3 separate regions of the Homo sapiens genome follow, and regions 1 and 3 are each linked to region 2. Evidence: promoter capture Hi-C in 16 types of primary human blood cells and fetal thymus (Javierre and others, 2016). All regions are on one chromosome and are shown on one strand. Each heading gives the region's core, a stretch centred on a gene start or on the middle of the fragment in contact. The rest is flanking DNA. Distances are from core to core; before and after follow the strand shown. Region 1 holds the start of ATN1 (atrophin 1). Region 2 holds the start of CD4 (CD4 molecule). Region 3 overlaps CHD4 (chromodomain helicase DNA binding protein 4).

Region 1 (3,296 bases), core at 531-3,030, 140 kb before region 2:
GGATTGTGTGTCTTTCTAGACCTGGGTCATGTTTTAGCACCAGCCTACACTCCTAGCAGGCAATCACTGTAACTAATATTACAGAGCACCTACTCTGTATCTGGCCACATACTAAGCACATTCACCTTCATTACCTTGCTTTATTTTATTTATTTATTTATTTATTTATTTATTGAGACGGAGTCTCACTCTGTCACCCAGGCTGGAGTGCCGTGCCGCGATCTCGGCTCGGCTCACTGCAAGCTCCACCTCCCGGGTTCACGCCATTCTCCTGCCTCAGCCTCCTGAGTAGCTGGGACTACAGGCGCCCGCCACCACGCCCGGCTAATTTTTTTGTATTTTTACTAGAGACGGGGTTTCACCGTGTTAGCCAGGATGGTCTCAATCGCCTGACCTCGTGATCCGCCCGCCTCAGCCTCCCAAAGTGCTGGGATTACAGGCGTGAGCCACTGCGCACTGCCATTACCTTACTTTAAAAAGAAAATGATTAAGACCAGACTGGGTTGGGAGGAAAGTGAGAACTAGAAAAAGAGCCCCTAAGTAAGAACAGGAAAAGAAATTAAGAGAGAAATATGGGATGTCAGAAGGAATACAGTGGAGTCACAAGCTCTCTGGGAGGGGCTCGCAGGCTAAATTTCAGGATCATTGGCCCAGCCCCCAACATCATTCTGGACCTGCCAGACTAACAAACCAGTCCAAAGTGACTCCTAGATAACAATGCAGCCCAGACCAGCAGATAACGATGCACTGGCCTAAGCCTTCTGAGAATCCGGGACCTTCAGAGAGGCCTCAGAGATCATCTCATCTATAGCCCCTTCATCTTAACAATGAAGCCCAGGCTCAAAGAGAAGTGACTTGCCCAAGGTCACAGAGGCACAGCCAGGTCTAGACACAGGTCTCCTGGCTCCTGTTCTATAGTATTTCCCCTGCATGAAGCTGTTTCACAGCCCTCTGTCCTGGGCCACCCTCACCTGGGATGGGCCTGGGAGCCCAGCCATTTCTACAAGGTCAGGGAAGAAGGCCAAAGGTTAGTTGAGGGAAAGAGGAAAAGGGTTACTCAAGAAGGGAGGCTCAAAGAGGAATTCAAGTTTTAGAAAATGAAAGAAAGTGCAAAGAAGCAAAAAGACAACTCTACAAAAAATAACATAATAAGGGAGGTAGAGGTCAGAACCAACTGCCAAAAGATGGTGTAACCTGAACAGAAGCGTTTTCATCCTCCCATCATGCCCAGGTGGAGAGACTTGGAGAAACACCTATGATCTGCAAGGAACGTATCTACCTGTTCCAACAGACTTCAACATGAAAGGGTGCACACCGTGGGGAAACTCCCAACCACCAACAGATCCAGAAACAACCTCCAAAACCCAGCCCAGAGTCCCAAGGACAGCCACAGGCTGAGGTCCAATAAACATTCGAAGCCCCCCCAACCAATCTGACATCCCACTGGATCACTACCATAGCAACACAGTGGCAAAAGGTGCCCCTCAAGAGACCATCCCAGGTGTCCATCTGGCAGCTACCCCCTACCCCAGTTGCCAAAGCAACTCCTACCCTCCTATAGCACCTCAGGTAAGGGAGCTTGAAGGTACCTACCCTAGTCAAAATAAGCCCATGCACAAAGGGAGATCTTTGAGCTCAAAGCAGTAACTAAGGCCTCCCTATATAGATCACAGCTCCAGGGGCAGCGGACGCTCCGGAAATTGGAGGGTGGAGGGTGGAGGTCGCAACTTGCCTGGAGTGCCTGTAAGGTTGCTCAATTCTCCATTTCCATCCTCCCAGAACCCCTTTCTTCCCAACTCCCCCTTCTGTGTTCCTGTTTTCCTCCTCACTAGTTTTGGGATAACCCACACTACTGGGCCCCAGTGCCCTCTCCAAGAAATAACTATGTCTGGGATAGGGAAAACAGGGTCAGAGGTGACCTGCAGTAGGGGAATGAAAACCGTCACAAAGACATGGCCTTCCCTCTTCCACGCTGGAAAACCTCCGGCTCTTCTCAAAAATGGACCTCTCTTTGCCCAAGCCTCCGTCTCCCCCAGGTTCATCAGCCACAATCCCTCTTTCCACCTACCACACCCCTTTCCCGTTTCCCACTTCCCGTCTATTCCTAAAGCCCCCAACCCCAGGCTCCGGAACCCGTGTTCTGGTCCTTTGGAGCTTTTTCCTGGAGGCTTCATGCCCCACCTCGCTGCCATCTCTCCTATCCATTCTGCCTTCGCCCGGAACCCCACTCACAGCATCCCCCGTTTTCCTCCGCCAACCCCGGCCTCGATGTTCCTCCTCTTTTGAGTCTGCGGGTCCCGGATACCCTCTGGCCCCACAGGCCTCCTCCGGAGACCCTCCCTCCTTCCCCACCTTCCCGATCCTCCCGAAACCCTGGCCCCCGACTCTCCTCGGCGGGCCCCACCCCCTGAGCCCCCGGCCCTCAGGCCAGGCAGAGCCCGCAGTGGGGGGACGGGATTGGGAAAATAACAAATGGAGGCGGCGGCGGCAGGAGGGGGAACTGGGAGGGGTGGGGGTGGGGAGCCGCAGGCCGGAGCCCGGGCGGGACAGAACCCCGCGGGCCCGGGGCCCAGGCGGCCGCAGACCTTACCTGCTGGTAGCTCGGGACGGCTGGCTGGCTCCGAGCGGGATTCCGGGCTCCGGCGCCTCTGGGGGGCGGCGGCGGCAGCTCCCCCGCCCCCCTCTCCTCTTCTCGGCCTCAGTCGCCGCCGCGACGACGGCGGCGGCGGCCCCGACCCCCCCGGAGGGCGGCCCCCATCCCCCCTTTTCCCCGCCTGGCCCCAATCGCCCGCCGGCCCCCGGAGCAAACCCCGATCCCCGCTCTGCTCCCCACCTCCCCGGGCTCGCCGCCTCCCCCTGGCCGCCCGGAATGCCCCGGGCCGCGCCGCCCGCCCCCGCCGCGCCGCCCGGCCCCGCGGCCCGCCCGGCCCTCGGCGCGGTTCCGACCCGCCGCCGCCCGCGCCCGCCTAGCGCAGCCCGCACCCGCGCGATCCCGGGCCCCTCGGCCGCCTCGCCCGCGGCCCCCGCCCCTTCCCCGGCAGTCGGCTCCCTCTCCCCCCTCCTAGCCCCTCCCCGAAGCCGCGGTCCCTCCGAAATGGCCCGGCCCGAGGCCCCGACCCGGCGCGGGGCTGCGGACGGGCTGGGCGGTGCGTCCGGCGACTCGCACAGGAAAGCGGACGGCGAAGGGAGGGAGCCTGGGAGAGGGGGATGGGAGAAGGGAGGAAGAGGGAGAAGGAGGGAGCGCGGAGGAACGGAGGAGAGAGGGGCCAGGAGGGAGACGCGAGGGAGGGAGCGCG
Region 2 (3,519 bases), core at 405-2,904:
AGGGTCAGAGCCTAGGGCTGCCCCCAAGCTCTGTCTAGCACCAGTGGTGGGAGGAGTTTTTATCTAGATATAGACCTCTCCTATGTAAGTGCTCCCACATTGAAAGAGGGAAATCATCTCCCGAGTGTCTCTAACGCTGTCCTCAGGGGCTCTTTCATCTGACTTTGAGGGCGGCGGCCATTTTGTATCAGCCTACAGCATCTGATACAGCACAAGGAATTATTGGTCAAAATGTGAAGTAGCAGTGACTTCCCCCATCAGGCCCTGCTCTTAGCCTTGCCCCGATAAAAATGTCCACCACAAGAGCAGGGCATTCAGGAAGCACTATCCCACTCAGAGTGAAATCTTTGAATTATTGAGAACAGGGCCTTTCCGTTTTGAGGGATCAGAACGTACCCCAGGAAACCTCTCTCCCAGAAGAAGCCTATGAGGGGAAAGCAGAGGACACTGGGGATAGCACGGCTTCAAGGCCATGAGGTCTCAGGGGCTGGAAAGGTCTGAGGGCGGAAAGGCTGAGATGGCACAGGGCTTCCCTTCAGGAGGGACAGTGAGTCCTCACTCTCCCTCACACCCTGCCAGGCCCAGGAGGGGCTGCACATCCTTCTGTAACTCTCCCGGCCTCATGAGACCCCTACCACCAATTCTTTTCGAATCCGTTTCTTAAATGACATATTTATCTAAAGATATGTATCTGCAACTTTTAGGGCAATTCATACGCAAAAGCTCAGTTTCAACACTTTCTGAGAATTTTAGCTTTCCTATTTCATGAATCATTTTAAAGCTAACTAGAGTAGAAGTGCCTTTAGACATTGTTCAAAAATCTTAAAAGAGCAAAGAAGCAGACAAAAATTTAAAAATACACACAGAAACACAAAAGGTAGTTAAAAGAGACTATTACATAGATCATGCGACTTATGAAATGCTGCAAGTATGATATTTGGTGTCAATTTTTGGAGATTGTCCCGTTAAGGAAAATTGGTTTTGCAAGAATTTTCTCTAGACTAGATTCCACTTCTTTTGCTCTTTTTCTTGTTTTTATGTTTTTCCTCATCATTTCTTTTTTATAGGTTTCCTCCCACCTTATATTTATTTATTCTTTCTAATTTTTTCCCTCCCCTTCTTCACTCTTTTTCTCCTCTTTTCCCCTCTTCCAGTCTTCTCCCCTCAACTGCCCACGACTAGTTGCCTTCCACGCCTTTCCCAGCCTGGGATAGTCTCCAGTCTTCACTCCCTCTCTGATCTTGCTATTTAGGTCACTACTCCTCTAAGGAGCACCCATTGCTCTGGACACTGAGCTGTGCACGCTGGGGCTGCAGAGAGGAGTCTAGCACAGTCTCTGACCTCTGGAAGCTCACAGTTCCAGTGGGAAATCGCTGCTCATGACCAGTTCCAAGAGAAATGCAAGAGAAGGTGGCCAGAGCTGTGGGCAGACAACTGGGCAGAGCACATTCCTGTGCATCTGCCCCACGTTCCCCTCCCTCTCAGCTCCGGGGAAGGAAGCCGAGTCTGACCACCTTACCTCTGGGCTTGCGTCTTTCTTGCCCGCTGCTTCTCAAACAGGCGTATCTGTGTGAGGACTTGGAGCTCTGCAACCAGGAGCCCAGTGGGGAGGGTGCTTTGTTCCTTCTGCAGAGTCGTGCTTAAATGAAGAGAGACAGGAAGCCCGATGGCAAGGCTCCTCCACACCCTAGGCCTGGGCCGGCCCCAAACGTCACCAGCTGGAGCTGGGTTCCCCACCCCCCAGGCTCTCAGGGAACATGTCAAAGTGAAAATGCCAAAGTCAAGGGAAAAAGTTAAGCAGAATCAGGCTTAAATCAGGAGTCAAACTGTCACTGCCACTGTTAAGCGGCAAGAAAAAGATGGCAAGAAAGATTCCATTAGTGGTAGCGCCATGTCTGACCAGGCTGTGGGGAAAGAAGTGGGAGGCAGTTGGGGGCATATGGGAACAGCAGTGGTAAGCCCACAAACAGCTCCTTGCTCTGGGGCCCTGAGGGCATGTGTCCAGTGGGTGCCCCAGGGGTATCTGTGGAGGCTTTATAGGTGGCCCAGTGTGGAAGAGAGGGCGTGGGCTGAGCAGAGAATATCTGAGACACCAGGAGTGACTGTTAACCAGGCTCTGTTCCTCTAGGCGTCTCTGGCCAGGCCTCAGGTGCTTTCCTCTAGCCCGAATCTACCATGAACTCTCTATGTGAGTATCCGTCTGCCCATTGGACATCTCCACTGGGAAGCTCACCGGACATAGCAAACTCAACACACATCCCCAACTATGCATACCACCTGCATACTACCACCCTCCAAACCTGCTTCTCCAGGCTTCTCACTCAGTGAGGGGCTCACCATCCACCAACTTGCCCAAGCAAAATAAATTGGGTGTAATCTTTGACACCCCCTTCACCCAACTTCTCCCACGTATTTATTTACCAGTTCCTGTGGATGTTACCTTCTAAATGGCTCCAAAATCTACCCAAGTCACTCTGCACTACCACTACTGCCACCATGCCAATCCAAGATGCCAATATCATCCCTTGCTCGGACAACAGCTCCTGCCTCCTCACTGGTCGCCATTCTCCATACCACAGCCCAAGTGATCATTTAAAGATGCACATGTGAGTGTGCGTTTTCCAGTCTGAAAAAAGTGGGGCTGGGAGTGGTGGCTCATGCCTATAATCCCAGCATTTTAGGAGGCCGAGGTGGGGGGATCGCTTGAGCCCAGGAAGTTGAGGCTGCAGTGAACCGTGATTGCACCACTGCACTCTAGCCTGAGTGACAGAGTGAGAACCTGTCTTGAAAAGAAGAAAAGAAAAGAAAAGAAAAGAAAACTCTAGTTCAGCTTGCGACTCCAACAATTAACACAAGTACCCCTATTTGACAGCATTGTACTTCATCTGTAGCATATAGTACTGTGTGCTACTTCTCATTTCATGACACACCGTACTCAAGGGTTGAGATTTAATAAAATTAGTATTTACTGCTTCATTAAAGGCATTCTATATATATATATATATATATTTTTTTTTTTTTTTTTTTTTGAGAGGGAGTCTCACTCTGTTGCCCAGGCTAGAGTGCAGTGGCGTGATCTTGGCTCACTGCAACCTCTGCCTCCCGGGTTCAAGCAATTCTCCTGCCTCAGCCTCCCAAGTAGCTGGGGCTACAGGCATGCGCCACAATGCCCAGCTAATTTTTGTATCTTTAGTAGAGATGGGGTTTCACCATGTTGCCCAGGATGGTCTTGATCTCTCTTTTTTTTTTTTTTTTTTTTGAGACAGAGTCTTGCTTTGTCATCCAGGCTGAAGTGCAGCAGCATGATTTCGGCTTACTACAACCTCCGCCTCCTGGATTCAAGCCATTCTCCTGCCTCAGCCTCCCGAGTAGCTGGGATTACAGGCACCCGCCAACATGCCTGGCTAATTTTTGTATTTTTGTAGAGACAGGGTTTCACTCGTTGGCCAGGCTGGTCTTGAACTCCTGACCTCAGGTGATCCTGATCTGCCCGCTTCGGCCTCCCAAAGTGCTGGGATT
Region 3 (3,595 bases), core at 47-2,546, 200 kb after region 2:
ACTCTTGGGCTCAAGTGATTCTCCTGCCTCAGCTTCCTGAGTAGCTGGGACTACAGGCGTGTGCCACCATTCCCAGCTAAATTTTTTTTTTTTTTTGAGATGGAGTTTCTTGCTCTGTTGCCCAGGCTAAAGTGCAGTGGTGCAATCTCTGCTCACTGCAACCTCTGCCTACCAGGTTCAAGCGGTTCTCCTGCCTCAGTCTCCTGAGTAGCTGGGATTACAGGTGTATACCACCACGCCTGGCTAATTTTTGTATTTTTAGTAGAGACAGGGTTTCACCGTGTTGGCCAGGCTGGTCTCGAACTCCTGATGTCAAATGATCCACCTGTCTCTGCCTCCCAAAGTGCTGAGATTACAGGCATGAGCCACTGCCCCCGGCTTAATTTTTTAAACTACATTTATGAATTGGAATTTAGGAGACACTTCTAATGGTGTTTTTGGTTCTTTTATTAGCACCGGGTGCTCAGCAGTTCTGCTTCTTGCTTTCCACTCGAGCTGGGGGCCTTGGAATCAATCTGGCCACTGCTGACACAGTTATTATCTATGACTCTGACTGGAACCCCCATAATGACATTCAGGTGAGCAGAGGCAGCAGGCAGCCTTAATAAGTAACATGTTATGCTAGAAAGGCATAGTGGCCTCTATGAGGGCTCCACCATCTGGAATTAGGTTTTTAAGTGAGAAACAACAGATTCTTTTTGTGTTGTTTACCTTATTGTAAGCCAGAGTTTGGTTAGCTGTGATCCTATTTTGGGTAACATGATAATAGAGGGTGGTGTCTGGAGGCAGGGGTGCAAAAGGAAGTTTCCTATGAATGTAGGCTGTGGACCTTGCCTTGTACTGAATTTAGAATATTATGTGGAAGTCAGGATAAGAGTGGCACCAGGAAAATACAATTTCTGGCTTTATTTCCTGTTCAACTCCAGGCCTTTAGCAGAGCTCACCGGATTGGGCAAAATAAAAAGGTAATGATCTACCGGTTTGTGACCCGTGCGTCAGTGGAGGAGCGCATCACGCAGGTGGCAAAGAAGAAAATGATGCTGACGCATCTAGTGGTGCGGCCTGGGCTGGGCTCCAAGACTGGATCTATGTCCAAACAGGAGCTTGATGATATCCTCAAATTTGGCACTGAGGAACTATTCAAGGATGAAGCCACTGATGGAGGTGAGGTAGTCAGGAACTTACGTTTTGGTGTGGGGCTTGGCCTCTCTAAAGGTTAGGGAGAATCTTTGATACCAAGGGTCTTGTGGGACTTGCTTTTTCCACTGCAGCTGCTGAAACTGACTTTGGGGATGTGGGCCCTTGATTTTTTATAGGAGGAGACAACAAAGAGGGAGAAGATAGCAGTGTTATCCACTACGATGATAAGGCCATTGAACGGCTGCTAGACCGTAACCAGGATGAGACTGAAGACACAGAATTGCAGGGCATGAATGAATATTTGAGCTCATTCAAAGTGGCCCAGTATGTGGTACGGGAAGAAGAAATGGGGGTGAGTATGAATCCAAGGCAATCCTGTGCTTGGTAATTGGTCTGAAAATTGGCATTGAGACCAAGGTGGTATTTGAGACAAGTGGAAAATATCTGTAGGCAAATTCTTATGTTGATGAATTGATCCTCTTCCTTTGAAAACAAAGCTGATAACATGACTAATCAGATTTTCATCTTTGCCTTGGTTGTCAGAAAACTTACAACCAAATATCATGCTCACAACAGTTATTTTGGCTCTTTACCAGAATGTCATTTTCTCCTATGTGTTTTATTAAACCTTACAAATGAAATTTTGAATGCTACCTCATCTCTCTAGAGAAAAGGCAGAAGATCCTAGGTAATCTATCTCTTTGTGTTTTCTGGTTTTTATTTAAGAGACAGGGTCTCTACCAGGTGCAGTGGCTCACATCTGTAATCCCAGCACTTTGGGAGGCCGAGGCAGGCAGATCACTTGAGGCCAGGAGTTTGAGACCAGCCCGGCCAACACGGTGAAACCCCGTTTCTACTAAAAATAAAAAAATTAGCCAGGCACGATGAAGCACACCTGTAGTCCCAGGTGTTCGGGAGGCTGAGGCAGGAGAATTGCTTGAACCCAGGAGGCGGAGGTTGCAATGAGCTGAGATTGCGCCACTGCATTCCAGCCTGATGACAGAGCCAGACTGTGTTTGAAAAAAAAAAACAACAAAAAAAGAGACAGGGTCTTGCTCTGTCACCCAGGCTAGAGTGCAGTGGCACAATCATAGCTGAGTGCAACCTTAAACTCTTGGGCTGAAGAGTGACCCTAGTAGATGTGTGCTACCACACCTGGTTAATTTTTTAAATGTTTTTAGAGATGTCTTGCTATGTTGCCCAGGATGGTCTTGAACTCCTGGCCTTAAGCAGTTCTCCTGCCTTGACCTCCCAAAGTGCTGGAATTACAGGTGTTAGCCACCACACCAGGCCTCCTTGTGTATGTATGTATGTATGTATTTATTTATTTATTTTGAGATGGAATCTCACTCTCTCCCCCAGGCTGGAGTGCAGTGGTGCGATCTTGGCTCACTGCAAGCTCTGCCTCCCGGGTTCATGCCATTCTTCTGCCTCAGCCTCCCGAGTAGCTGGGGACTACAGGTGCCTGCCTCCACACCCAGCTAATTTTTTTTGTATTTTTAGTAGAGATGGGGTTTCACTGTGTTAGCCAGGATGGTCTCGATCTCCTGACCTTGTGATCCACCCACCTCTGCCTCCCAAAGTGCTGGGATTACAGGCGTGAGCCACTGCCCCTGGCCTTATATATTTTTTTTTTGATACGGAGTCTTGCTCTGTTGCCCAGGCTGGAGTTCAGTGGTGCGATCACAGCCTACTGCAACCTCCACTTCCTGGGTTCAAGCAATTCTCCTGCCTCAGCCTCCCAAGTAGCTGAGATTACAGGTATGCACCACCATGCCCGGCTAATTTTTTTATAGTTTTAGTAGAAACGGGGTTTCACCATGTTGGCCAGGATACTCTAGAACTCCTGACCTCAAGTGATCCGCCTGCCTCGGCCTCCCAAAGTGGTGGGATTACAGGCATGAGCCATTACGCCTGGCCTCTTTGTGTGTGTGTTTTTTTTTTTTTGAGACAGAGTCTTGCTTTCCCGCCCAGGCTGGAGTGCAGTGGCATGATCTCGGCTCACTGCAACCTCCGCCTCCCGGGTTCAAGCAGTTCTCTTGCCTCAGCCTCCCGAATAGCTGGGACTACAGGCACGTGCCACCACACCCAGCTAATTTTTTGTATTTTTAGTAGAGATGGGGTTTCACCATGTTTTTTTAAAGATTAGAATTGGGCCAGACGTGGTGGCTCACGCCTGTAATCCCAGCACTTTGGGAGGCCAAGGCGGGTGGATCACGAGGTCAAGAGATCGAGCCCATCCTGGCTAACACGATGAAACCCCGTCTCTACTAAAAATACAAAAATTAGCTGGGCGTGGTGGCGGGCGCCTGTAGTCCCAGCTATTCGGGAGGCTGAGGCAGAGAATCACTTGTACCTGGGAGGCAGAGCTTGCAGTGAGCCAAGATTGCCCCACTGCACTCCAGCCTGGGGGACAGAGCCAGACTCCGTCTCAAAAAGATTAGAATCGGTATAT

Evidence for each region. The method cuts DNA at HindIII sites, captures the fragments that hold promoters and counts their contacts. A CHiCAGO score of 5 or more calls a contact.
Region 1: a fragment that was not itself captured here is called in contact with the fragment with the promoter of CD4 in region 2 in 1 of 17 cell types (non-activated CD4 T cells); the score reaches 5.6 in non-activated CD4 T cells.
Region 3: a fragment that was not itself captured here is called in contact with the fragment with the promoter of CD4 in region 2 in 8 of 17 cell types (naive CD8 T cells, total CD4 T cells, total CD8 T cells and 5 more); the score reaches 11.7 in naive CD8 T cells.

What each region holds. Positions count from the first base shown.
Region 1 is chr12:6,927,679-6,930,974 of GRCh38, reverse strand. It overlaps ATN1 (atrophin 1), which reads right to left and starts at 3,016. Exons shown (of 10, transcript NM_001940.4): 1 at 2,591-3,016. It overlaps LOC124902868 (a long non-coding RNA gene), which reads left to right and starts at 3,279. Exons shown (of 2, transcript XR_007063194.1): 1 at 3,279-3,296. RefSeq lists a silencer at 3,018-3,177. The HindIII fragment of the contact is 3,716 bases long and covers 1-3,296 here.
Region 2 is chr12:6,787,663-6,791,181 of GRCh38, reverse strand. CD4 (CD4 molecule) reads right to left here and starts at 1,654. Exons shown (of 10, transcript NM_000616.5): 1 at 1,520-1,654. RefSeq lists enhancers at 1,748-1,797, 1,613-2,170. The HindIII fragment of the contact is 6,468 bases long and covers 1-3,519 here.
Region 3 is chr12:6,585,281-6,588,875 of GRCh38, reverse strand. CHD4 (chromodomain helicase DNA binding protein 4) reads left to right here. Exons shown (of 40, transcript NM_001273.5): 23 at 454-578; 24 at 927-1,164; 25 at 1,317-1,492. Among named protein-coding and RNA genes, the nearest start is that of CHD4-AS1, 19 kb to the right of the region's middle. The HindIII fragment of the contact is 7,516 bases long and covers 1-3,595 here.